Regions from separate parts of the Homo sapiens genome. Here all the other regions are linked to region 1. Evidence: promoter capture Hi-C in 16 types of primary human blood cells and fetal thymus (Javierre and others, 2016). All regions are on one chromosome and are shown on one strand. The core of a region is centred on a gene start or on the middle of the fragment in contact, and the rest is flanking DNA. Distances in the headings are between cores, read along the strand shown.

Evidence for each region. Contacts are between HindIII fragments. The CHiCAGO score rates a contact against its expected background, and 5 or more counts as called.
Region 2: a fragment that was not itself captured here is called in contact with the fragment with the promoter of H4C8 in region 1 in 2 of 17 cell types (M0 macrophages and monocytes); the score reaches 6.8 in M0 macrophages.
Region 3: a fragment that was not itself captured here is called in contact with the fragment with the promoter of H4C8 in region 1 in 1 of 17 cell types (neutrophils); the score reaches 5.6 in neutrophils.

Annotation. Positions count from the first base shown.
Region 1 is chr6:26,283,850-26,287,967 of GRCh38, reverse strand. It overlaps H4C8 (H4 clustered histone 8), which reads left to right and starts at 2,434. Exons shown (of 1, transcript NM_003543.4): 1 at 2,434-2,842. The coding sequence starts at 2,469. The coding sequence ends at 2,780. It overlaps TRX-CAT1-2 (tRNA-iMet (anticodon CAT) 1-2), which reads right to left and starts at 1,442; the gene lies at 1,371-1,442. It overlaps LOC124901287 (a long non-coding RNA gene), which reads right to left and starts at 2,288. Exons shown (of 2, transcript XR_007059520.1): 1 at 1,915-2,288. RefSeq lists a silencer at 1,654-1,703 and enhancers at 2,044-2,433, 2,584-2,743, 2,122-2,857, 1,950-3,149, 2,858-3,593. The HindIII fragment of the contact is 3,784 bases long and covers 1-3,136 here.
Region 2 is chr6:26,023,406-26,027,563 of GRCh38, reverse strand. H4C2 (H4 clustered histone 2) reads left to right here and starts at 281. Exons shown (of 1, transcript NM_003544.3): 1 at 281-668. The coding sequence starts at 312. The coding sequence ends at 623. RefSeq lists enhancers at 1-212, 189-508, 529-588, 619-668, 1,609-1,903. The HindIII fragment of the contact is 1,208 bases long and covers 2,188-3,395 here.
Region 3 is chr6:26,661,191-26,665,413 of GRCh38, reverse strand. No RefSeq gene overlaps it. Among named protein-coding and RNA genes, the nearest start is that of ZNF322, 3.6 kb to the right of the region's middle. The HindIII fragment of the contact is 2,846 bases long and covers 554-3,399 here.

The sequences.
Region 1 (4,118 bases), core at 1,185-3,684:
CATTGTATCCTGTGCTGTAATGAATCTTTTTTGTTTTTATTTTTAAAACATGTTCTTTAACCCAAACAAAAAATGGTCAATAGATATAATAAATCTTAACTGAGAGTATGCTGAGTCATGTGATTACTTCTGGTGAATTACTGAATTAGTGGGTGGTCATGGGATTACAAGCACTATTTTCCTTATTCCCAGTGCACTTAGTGTACAATCCTTTCACAGAATTACTGTATTGCACTCTACATATTTACTTGTTTAAAAGCATATGGGCCAGGTGCGTTGGCTTAAGCCTGTAATCCCAGCAGTTTGGGAGGCCAAGGCTGGCGGATTGCCTGAGGTTAGGAGTTCAAGACTAGCTTGGCCAACATGGTAAAACCCTGCCTTTATTAAAAATACAAAAATTAGCTGAGTGTGATGGCAGGCACCTGTAATCCCAGCTACTTGGGAGGCTGAGGCAGGAGAATCTCTTGAGCCCAGGAGGTGGAGGTTGCAATGAGCCAAGATCGTGCCACTGCACTCCAGCCTGGGCAACAAGAGTGAGACTTCATCTCAAAAACAAATAAACAAACAAAAAACAAAAAACAAAAACAACAAAAGCATATCTAGACTGTAGACTACTTAAGGTTTTTTTTTTTTCTTAGTTCCTAATACAGTATGTGACACATAAATATCTGAATAGGAATCCTTTCTGAGAGAGAGAAGCATAAAGCAGTCCACACATATGTTTAAAAAATAAGCACAGCGAATAGTTCTATTTGAGATATTAAAGGATGGTAGAGAGTAGAGACACATTTACCAGTAGGGTCCGCAAAAATGTTTTTCTCAGGTCAGAGTTCAATCAGTGCTATGAAGACTCCACACCCACCTCAAAATGCAACTCATTTTCCGAGATTAAGATCCTTGTAGGTGAAAAGAATCTGTGTGGGGATTTAGGAATTCCTAGTCGATTGCCTTAACTACTTGGCAAATAGTGCTTTCTGAATTATGTATCAAAAGATATAAAACTCCATTCCTGGGCTCCCACCCCACCCCACCCTTGGCACTCAGTTTATGTAAGCATTCTCCTTGCTTGGCAGGTTAACTTACAACTGTCATAACTGGCTGCAACAGTGGTATAGCCTCTAAACAAGAGAAATTTGCTTTGTTTACAGATGACATATTGATTAATGACACTTGGGTGTCCATGAAAATCAAAATTGTACATGCAGAGATTGTAGTTTCACATTATTTCCCGGAAATGCTTGTAATTCTGGAATTAAAGAAATACTCGGGTTCATTTTGTTTTCTTTCGTCATTGTTTAACCTAAAAAACTGTAACTTAAAAAAAAGGGATCCTCAGGAAAATAGACGGGGGGGGAGAAAAAAAAAGGACCTAGCAGAGGATGGTTTCGATCCATCGACCTCTGGGTTATGGGCCCAGCACGCTTCCGCTGCGCCACTCTGCTGTTCTGCCAGGCACACGGTCTCACAGTACTCTTAACTACTTACAGGAGATGCGTTCAGACTACCTCGTAATTTAAGAAAAAACCTACGAGCAGTTGCCTACTTCTTTGGCTACCACAGGTTGCCAACTCACTTTGGAAAAAGGAATCACCAGAATCAAACAGAAAACAAAACTAGGGATAGAAAAATAAATATCAATACACTGGTGGGCTAGGCGCGGTAGCTCACGCCTGTAGTCACTGCACTTTGGAAGACCCAGGCAGGCAACATAGCGAGACCCTGTCTCAATAAAATTAAAAAAAGGAAAAAAAAAAACCCCCACCCCGAAACCTACACACTGGGTGCAGTTGTGAGGGGCAGTTAGATATTTAAATGGCAATTACAAATTTTAATAAGCAGGGAAAGAAGAGAACAAACTGGGAATAGAATCAGGCCTCCGCGCGGAGGGCAATAATTCTACCACGAATCACTAACCTATCATGCCTTCGCCATCGGGAAGAAAACCCTTTTGGTTATGTTTCCCTTGGCTTGGTGATGGAGAGGGTGAAATCTTGCAGTTTTCAAACACTTCCGAAGGGGGGTTTCGGTCCGCATGTGCTTTACAGCCGGCAGCAGAAAGCCAGTCACTGTGACCTTGGGGACAAAGCTGCACTCCTCAGGCTTCCGGTCTTGTGGACCGAGGCTCCTCTCCAATCGTCCTAAAGCAACTGAAGGAACAATTGATAACAATTTAAACATGTTAATTTATTTAATCTGATTTGGTTGTTAAAACAGCCTTAAAACTCTCATTCCTATTTCCCAGCAATTGCAAGAGACGCCTCCGCGGAGCCGGCGCTCAGATGCCAAAGGCTGGAGTCGTTGGTGACGTCATCCAGGGCTGGGCTATGCGGGGTGGGGCCAAGAAGCAGGACCAAAGTTCCGGTATGCGCGCTTTCAGTCTTCAATTAGGTCCGAATTCCCGGCATATAAGGGCGTTGCTTTGCCTTGGCGTTTAGGTTTCTTAAGTTGGTTTTAGAAGTTGCTTAGTCATGTCTGGCCGTGGTAAAGGTGGAAAAGGTTTGGGTAAGGGAGGAGCTAAGCGTCATCGCAAGGTTTTGCGCGATAACATCCAGGGCATCACTAAGCCAGCTATCCGGCGCCTTGCTCGTCGCGGCGGTGTCAAGCGAATTTCTGGCCTTATCTATGAGGAGACTCGTGGTGTTCTGAAGGTGTTCCTGGAGAACGTGATTCGTGACGCTGTCACTTACACAGAGCACGCCAAACGCAAGACCGTGACAGCAATGGATGTGGTCTACGCGCTGAAGCGACAGGGACGCACTCTTTACGGCTTCGGTGGCTAAGGCTCCTGCTTGCTGCACTCTTATTTTCATTTTCAACCAAAGGCCCTTTTCAGGGCCGCCCACTTTTTTCATAAAAGAGCAGACATCTTGTTATCCTGCTTTGTTCCAGATTTTTGCTGAGAAGTAGTTACTGTGCACATGTGTAGATTTGCAGGTAACGTTTAATTACTCGTGCTTAATCTCGCATGTTTAGGATTTGGGCATAAAGTACTTAAAGCCACTGTTTTCTGCTTGAGGGAAGTTGGTATGTTGAATATGTTTAGCTTTCTTGTGGCATTTTAACACTAGATATCAGTGAGTAAGCTGGATTGTGACAGTTTATAATTCCCGTGGGCCTTCCTCCTTCAGTTTAAGCTTGAAGCGTTCGTAAGGTTCTCAAAGACTACAGAAGTTGGAAACTTCGCGGAGAGACTGCAAGTTACCCTTTCCAAAATGGCGGGAAGGGCTAAAAACAAAGAAAGCTCGCACCCAGACGGCGGGCCTTAAACCAAGGCGAATCCGTGAGCGCAACACATCTGCGTGAGTAGGATCGCAGACCCAAGTCCAGGCGGCGTGCGCGCTGCTGCTTTTGACTTGGTGACAAAACTCGTCTACAAAAGGCAGTGTGGGGTAACAATATAAATGTTCACTTGAGAGCTTGCAAGTATTGTTTCCAATAGACTTAAAATGTGTTTTTGAATATTACGAAAATATTAAAAGGTAGGGTACCGCTTAGTGAGCAATATAGAAACATCACCATAACTTATTTTGTTGTTGTTGAGACGGAGTTTTGCTCTTTCATCCAGGCTGGAGTGCAGTGGCGCGATTTCGGCTCACCGCAACCTCCGCCTTACAGTTTCAAGCGATTCTCCTGCCTCAGCCTCCTGAATAGCTGGTATTACAGCCGCCCGCCTAATTTTTGTGTTTTTAGTAGAGATGGGGTTTCACCATGTTGGCCAGGCTGGTCTCGAACTCCTGATCTCGTGATCCACCCGCCTCGACCTCCCAAAAGTGTTGGGATTACAGGCATGAGGCACTGCGCCCGGCCACGAAAACTTAAATTCTTAACCAGCAATGATCGCCTTTTGAAAAAGTACACATTCAGGCATCAGGACAATGATTTGCTAGAGACCAAACTTGTAGGAGATTTGGATTGGCTTTTTTTTTCCTTTTTTGAGGCGGAGTCTCACCTTCGCCATGCTGGAGTGAAGTGGCGTGATCTCGGCTCACTGGAACTTCTGCCTCCCGAGTTCAAGCGATTCTACTGCCTTAGCCTCCCAAGTGACTACAGGCTCGCGCCACCACGCCCAGCTAATTTTGGTATTTTTAAGTATAGGTGGGGTTTCACCATGTTGGCCA
Region 2 (4,158 bases), core at 1,542-4,041, 260 kb after region 1:
CCGGCATATTAGTGAAAGCCCTTAATATAAGCCCTTATTAAAATTCTCAGTCGAGGGTATAAATTCAGATTCAAATAGTAGTGTCGTAAACGGGAGGGAAAAACTAAAGGGATTAAAAAGTGAAACTATTGTGTTCTCCCTCGCAGTCCTTAGGTCACTGCCCCTCGAGGGGCGGAGCAAAAAGTGAGGCAGCAACGCCTCCTTATCCTCGCTCCCGCTTTCAGTTCTCAATAAGGTCCGATGTTCGTGTATAAATGCTCGTGGCTTGCTTTCTTTTCGCGTACCTGGTTTTTGTTGTCAGCTGGTTAGACATGTCTGGTCGCGGCAAAGGCGGTAAAGGTTTGGGTAAGGGAGGTGCCAAGCGTCACCGAAAAGTGCTGCGGGATAACATCCAAGGCATCACCAAACCGGCCATTCGGCGCCTTGCTAGGCGTGGTGGGGTTAAGCGAATTTCCGGTTTGATTTATGAGGAGACTCGTGGCGTTCTCAAGGTGTTTCTGGAGAACGTGATCCGGGACGCCGTGACCTACACGGAGCACGCCAAGCGCAAGACTGTCACTGCCATGGATGTGGTTTACGCGCTCAAGCGTCAAGGACGCACTCTGTACGGCTTCGGCGGTTAATCTTTTCGTCAGTTTTCTTCCAATGGCCCTTTTCAGGGCCGCCCACTCCCTCTCAGAAAGAGCTGTGATTGTATTCTTTCGGATGGTAACATCTCAATGGCTTTACTCGGCTATTCTGCCTAGTATGTAGAACTATTATAAACCAGTTGGGAGAGACCAGGTTGTTTGGTCTGAGTGGCTGCTAAAGCAGAAATCAGCTAAGTAAACGAGGTCTCCGAGATAAGTGAGCTATAAACTTCAATGCTATAGTTTTGACATGTCAAGCAACTTAACGTGCAGCGCGAGTCCGATAAATGAGTAGCTCAGCTTTTTAGTTTTAAAAACGAGTTGTGCGTTATTTGTACGAGAGCCTAAGATGCTAGCTGCCTGGAACTGAGTAGGTGGATTAAAATGGGTGTCAGGTCTGTTTTCCCAGGCGTATCTGACTTAACGTCAGCAAAAGCTGTACTTTTAGCTTCCCTGGTAACACCTGCCGTCCTTAACCGCCCCCTGCCGGTAGCGCCAGAAGCCTTTACTTCCATTTCTAGTTGAGCTTGGCGTCCTGCTGAGTGACGTCACCTCCCCCTTCTCTGGAGTAGGACTGGCGGTTAAAGCTGCTTTGCTATTTTCAGTCCTCAGGCTGGAGGCTCCCCTAAGCAGGCTGCCTACGCAGTTCGTAAATTCCCACTTAGTAGACTAAGGGAGTCTGTTTTATAAATAAGGACTCAAATTTCTTCTGACTCCGAGGTCCGTGGCAGCAGCTATAAGATGGAAGCCCCCTCTGATGTAAGATTCTCAGATGACTTGCATCTTCACTGTACCTGTCAACCCAATAGTCTTCTATTCCTGCCTTAAATTGTAAATTCCAAAACTGATTTAATTGTGAAAGTTTCAAACTGTACGACCTAGGAAGTGTCAAAGTTAGGTGACCAGATTTTTAGAAGTCAGCCAAATATTCAGCATCTTTGATTTAGTAACAAATATATTGATGGCTACTTCAGCAAAAAAAATCAACTTTGTTTTCTGGTTACTTTGCTAACAAGCTTCTCCTGACAGGAGGATATAGTGAATAGGCAGTTGAATAAGTGAGTTCGGGTGAGAGGTCTGAGCTGGAGATAAAAATGTGTGAGTCATCAGCAGATAAATAAATGCTGAGACCAGATGAGATGGCTAAAAACTGAAACATAATGTAGTGCAGCATTGTTTGTAATAGTAAATGAGTGGCAACTGTAAAGTTTTCATCAGAAAGGACTAGAGTGATCTATACATCCATAAAATAGAGTATTTCTCTACACAGCCCTACTAAAGAATGAGAAAGCTGTACTCCACTACATACTCTGGTGTACTCTGGCTCAGTTCTTGGACTCCTCTTTTCTTGGCTAACTCAACTGGCCTCACCACTTACATGCTCTGTGCTCTGTCAAATAGTTTGTTCAACAGAACACCACGGCCTAGCTGTAAGTGCCACGTTAACTTCTAGCAATGCCAAAGCCTGTGATAGTGGCAGCTTCGGGCTGTTTCTCATTCCCGGGATGCCTAACCACCTCTCCAAATTCTATCAGTTTGCTTCCACCCACTTCAAGCTTCAGAACGAAACATAGAGCTTAAGAAATATAGGCCCGGCAAGGTGGCTCACGCCTGTAATCCCGGCACTTTGGAAAGCTGAGCCTGGTGGATCACCTGGGGTCAGGGGTTCGAGACCAGCCTGGCCAATATTGTGAAACCCCGTCTCTACTAAAAAAAAAAAAAAAATTAGCTGGGCATGGTTGCGGGCGACTGTAATCCAAGCTACTCGGGAGGGTGAGACAGGAGAATAGCTTGAACTCGGGAGGCAGAAGTTGCAGTGAGTTGAGATCGCGCTATTACACTTAGGCCTGGGAGACAAGAGTGAAACTGTGTCTCTAAATAAGTGTTTGCAATTATAAACCATCTCCCTGACCTTAAATCTCTAGACTCATATACAACTGCATATTTGATGTATCTAATTGAATAATGGGCATCTCGAACTTGTCCAAAATATGTTTATACGTAAACACCAAGTCTGTTCTTCCTCTGATATTTGTCATGTCAATCAATAGAACTCCATTCTTCAAGCAGCTTGGGCCAGGAATTGTGCAATATTGTTTGTCCTGAGCTTCTTACAACTTTCACCCAATGCAGTCAGCTCTGTTGAAAATCAATCAGAATACCTTTCATTGTTTTCTTTGCTGCTTCTCTAGGAGCAAGCTGCCATGGCGGTTTGTCTGAATGACCACAGTGACCCCAAACTGGTCTTTGTTTTCACTTTTAATCCCCCTGTCATACAGTTTTTTCTCTATCCAGCATCAACAGTGATCCTTTTTGAAGGTATTATGTCCACTGTCTGCTGAAAAGATTCCACTGGCTTTCCATCACCTTCATAATAAAAACCAGCATCCTTATCATAGCCTACAAGTAAGATGACCAACCATTACAGTTTGCCTGACTCTCAGGGGTTTCTCAGGGTGTAAGACTTACAGTGCTGAAACTTAGAAAGTTCCAAGCAAACTAGGATGAGCTGCTCAACCTACTAGATCTGTACTCTGGCTACCCTCTGACCTCATTCTCTTCGCAGTTCTTTCTCTTCACTGACCTTGCTGTTTCTGGAATGGACCAAGCATTTCCAGCATCAGCACCTTTATATCTATTCTTTCTCCCTAGAAGGGTCTTGTCCTGGATATCTGAATGGCTCTAGATCTCATTTCATTCAAGCCTCTCCTCAAATACCAACCTTACGAAAGAGACCTCCCATAATCATCCCTTGTAAAATAAGCTTTTCTGCTCATTTAGCATATATATATATAGTTGACTATCCTCAATAGCATATATATATAACATTTCCCCACCTAGAATTATATATGTAATAATATATTTAACAAAAAATACATATAACTAGATATATTTTATTTTGTGTTTGTTCTCTCTCCCCCAACTGGAATATATTTTTTGAAGGTAGGGACTTTGTTTTGTCCCAGAAGTATCCCTAGCACCTTGAACAGGGCTGACGTTTAACAGGTAGTTTATGGAGGTTTGTTGAATGAAAGGATGTGTGAATTTTCTATGTAAGTCTCCAGGCTCTCCACTAAGCCCACCAGAATGCTAACACAATCAATTCCCCATCTCATTCCTTGACCTGCCACTGCCTGAAGCAATCAGCGTGCAGTTTCTCTTTAGAAAATCTGGGGGATAGTCTAGGGGTTGCAAATTAAGCAACATTATCTTTGTTCTGAACAAGGACTGCATGAGTGTTAGGACTGAAGAAGGCCCAAGGTGGTGGTGGGTATGCCTAAGATGAGTATGACATATCAGCAATGCTATGAACATAGCAATGCTATGAAAGGCCAGGCAAAACGTAACAGGAGCTAGTCGTGGCTTATTGTTACAACGACTATACCTCCCATATGGGTAATCGATATCCACACACCCCTCTACATTGACTCTGGAATTCAGGAAAGGGAATTAAAATTTTCTAACTTATGTACCCCAATGATTTCAACAATATCTGGCATATGAGATCAATAAATATCTTTAAAATACC
Region 3 (4,223 bases), core at 727-3,226, 380 kb before region 1:
AGAGCATGGTTCCCCTTAGAGCAGCAGTTCCCAACCATTTTGGCACCAGGGACTAGTTTCGTGGAAGACAAATTTTCCACAGATGGTGGAGGGGGATGGTTTTAGGATAATTAAAGCATATTACATTTATTGTGCACTTTACTTCTATTATTATTACATTGTAGTATATAATTAAATAATTATAGAACTCCCCATAATGTAGGATCAGTGGGAGCTCTAAGCTTGTCTTTGTGCAACTAGACTAGACTCACTGGGCAGGATTTACATAAAATGTCTCATTAACTTAGATACAGAGTCTATGAGTATAAAAGGTACAGCACAGTGAGGCTTACAAATGTAATTCAAATACTCATCTGGGAGTAATGGGAGACAGTGACAGATCATCAGACATTAGCTTCCCATGAGGAGCATGCAATCTAGATGTCTCTCATCTGCAATTCACAATAAGGTTCGCGGTCCTATGAGAATCTAATGCCACTGCTGATCTGACAGGAGGTGGACCTCAAGCAGTAAGGCGGGTGATGGGGAGCAGCTGTAAATACAGATGGAAGCTTCACTCACTTGCCCATCACTCACCTCCTACTGTACAGCCCAGTTCTGAAGAAGCAACTAACTTGTATGTGGCCCAGGGGTTGGGGACCCCTGCTTTAAAGAATTTTTTTCTTTTTTTGAGACAGGGTCTCACTCTGTCACCCAGGCTGAAGTGTAGTGGCACAATCTCAGCTCACTGCAGCCTCAACTTCCCAGAGGACTCCAGGGATCCTCCCATCTCAACCTCCTGAGTTGGTGGGACCACAAGTGTGCACCACTACATTCGACTAATTTTTGTATTTTAGGTGAAGATGGGGTTTCACCACATTACCTAGGCTGCTCTTGAGTTGATCTCGAACTCCTGAGCTCAAGCAATCCACCACCTTGGCTTCCCAAAGTGCTGGGATTACAGGTGTGAACCACCATGCCAGCCCTAGAACTAACATTTTAATGGGTATCTATTACATGCCGAGTCACTATGATGATACCTTTGCATTAATTACTACATTTCATTCTTACCTCAGCTCAGGGAGGGAGGTATTGTCTTATGAACTTGTAACAGTCAAGATGGAAAGACAAAGTAGAGCACTGTAAAACAGATAAGCTGGAGAGCTGGACGGAAAACACAGAAAAGGCAGCCACGCATCATTCAGGAAAAGGAATAATGGTGAATAGCCAGATAGATTCAATGTATGAGAGAAAAGGTAAATTAAGAAGAGATGGGCTGGATGCAGTGGCTCACGCCTGTAATCCCAGCACTTTGAGAGGCCGAGGCGGGCAGATCACCTGAGGTCGGGTGTTCGAGACCAGCCTGGTCAACGTGGTGAAACCCTGTCGCTACTAAAAATACAAAAATTAGCCAGGTGTGATGGCGCATGCCTGTGGTCCCAGCTACTTGGGAGGCTGAGGCAGGAGAACCGCTCAAACTCGGGAGGTGGAGGTTGCAGTGAGCTGAGGTTGTGCCACTGCACTCCAGCCTGGGCGACACAGCAAGAGTCCATCTCAAAAAAAAAGCCAGGCACAGTGGCTCACGCCTGTAATCCCAGCACTTTGGGAGGTCAAGGCAGGTGGATCTCTTGAGGTCAAGAGTTCCAGACCAGCCTGGCCAACATGGTGAAACCCCAACTCAACTAAAATATAAAAATTAGCTGGGCTTGGTAGCGCATGCCTGTAATCCCAGCTGCTTAGGAGGCTGAGGCAGGAGAACTGCTTGAATGAGGGAGGTGGAGGTTGCAGTGAGCCGAGATCATGCTACTGCACTCCAGCCTGAGCGACAGAGCGAGACTCCGTCTCAAAAAGAAAAAAAAACAAAGAAAAAAAGAAGAGATGACATGGATGAAAGACCTTTTCTGTACTAAGTTAAAATCTAGTTGGAGTAACAGGTACGGAACAATCACCAGAACTCTCAGTAACAAGCTGCAGCAGATGAAGAAAAATTGAGGCCACTAACGTTGATTTTGGGTCTGACTCCTGTAAATCTCCATTAACAGTGCATGCATCAGGATCCCAAAAATCGCAAATATGCCTGCCGTAGAGACACAGAAGAGGACTTTCTCTTTTTCAGAGTTCCTTCGTGGAAACTTTCAGCTTAGATTTCGGCAGGAAAAATTCTAACATAGCCAAAACCTGCCATAGTATTCTTTAGCCTTCCTCTGACCCCAGTTGTTTCCTTAAGTACCTTGGGAATTTCCACTGAAATCTTGATTATGTCCTGTTCTTTAGATCATCTGTCTGTCCTTTATTGCATGGTCTAAGGTATTCCTTTTTAGTGTGTAAATCACTTTGGAAAATGATTTAGAAAAATAAAAAGACTGCATGGTGTCTAAGAAGAATTTAAAGGGTTTTCAAATGGAATTCCAATGTATCTACACCTTCCAAAAAAAACTCTCTCCTCAGTCTCAAATCCATTGATCACTTTCCTCTACAACTCATCAACTATCCATACTTTATCCAACCCCAACTCATACCCTGCATGCCTCTGACTTGCTTGCCTAATCATGTTCATCCAACCAACATTAATTGATCATATAAGTAACCTATTTGACGTCACTTTCTACTCAAATTTACCTTTCCACCTCAATATGATTCATACACTAAACCTATGTTGTCCCCTGATCCTGCTCCTTTTCCCTGATCTCCAATCTCTTATCCTTCTACTTGACATTAGTCCAAACTTATATTTCTTATTTCCCAAATCGCCATGTCCTTATTCTTACCAAATATTTGGCCGAACTAAAGATATAACTCAATCTTTCTCTCCCATAATCAGATCTTATCACATTAGTTCAGTCACTCACATGATCTAACCCTCTTAGGTGATGTCTCTTTATTCTCTCAGAAGGAGAAATCCTAGGAAACTGCAATTCCCTGCCTCATCTTATCACAAATGCTGCCCCTTATAAACGAACTGCTTCCACAGAATATGTTTCCATACAAAGGCTACTTATATGATTGTCAGATGCAATACAGGATGCCCAGTTACATTTAAATATCGGATAAACAATGAACCATTTTTTTAGTGTATGTCCCATGGGAAAAATATATTCCCTAAAAACTTTTTTAAAATCTATTGTTTATCTAAAATTCAAATGTAACTGGGTTTCCTGTACTTTTTTCTTTCTAAATTTGGCAACCCTAGATACATACACTCTCCATAGGACCAATCTACTTTCCAGTGGATAATCTCAGAAAGAAGTTTCAGACCTACTGGCTTCTAGGAAACAAGATACTGAAATGCACCTTTCCAGGGGCTGCAGTTCACAATTTCCCACTTGCTCAACTCTAGTCACAATAGTCTTTCCATACCCTTCATCTCTATCCTCAAAGCCAGATCCTCTTCAGAACCACAAGAAGTATGTTGCCCAAGCTTGGTCTGGAACTCCTGGGCTCAAGTGATCCCCCCACCTATGCCTACCAAGCAGCTGGGGCTACAGGCATGTGCCACAGTGTCTGGTCAAAAACCTCTTAACTGAAACTCTCCTCCCTTGGTTGTCGTAGTCCACTTTTGTTTTCCTCATAATTTCCTGGCTGCTCCTTCTTACTCTTTATCCTCATACTTAAAACTAAAAATAATCTTTCTAAAGATTTTAAATGTGGGGATAATTGCCCTATTTCCACAGCTTGAAATTCCAAGAATTGCTTCCCATTTCATATAAGATAAATTCCACTAACTGAAATCACATTCAAATGTCTCTGTACTTATTTTCCATCTTCCATTTCAGGCTCATCTTCAGCCAACTCCTTACTTCTATTCCTTCGAGTCTCACCTTATGTCTCATCTCCTACAGAGTCTTTTCTGACTCTTTCTCAAAGTTCTTACAAAGTGCTTCACCTCTATGCCCCCAGATGACCTTATACAACTTCTACCTCTACCACACCACCTAAAACCCCTGCCGTCTCCATACCAGACTGTGAGCCATTAAAGGAGTGGTATTGAGTCTCACTGGCCTTTAATTCCTAACACACAGCATAGTGTCCTGTTTTTTTGGTTTTTGTTTCTTTTTGACATGGAGTTTCACTTTTGTTGCCCGGGCTGGAGTGCCCTTGGCTCACTGCAACCTTCACCTCCCAGGTTCAAGCGATTCTCCTGTCTCAGCCTCCCAAGTAGCTGGGATTACAGGCATGCGCCACCACGCCTGGCTAATTTTGTATTTTTAGTAGAGACAGGGTTTCACCATGTTGGTCAGGCTGGT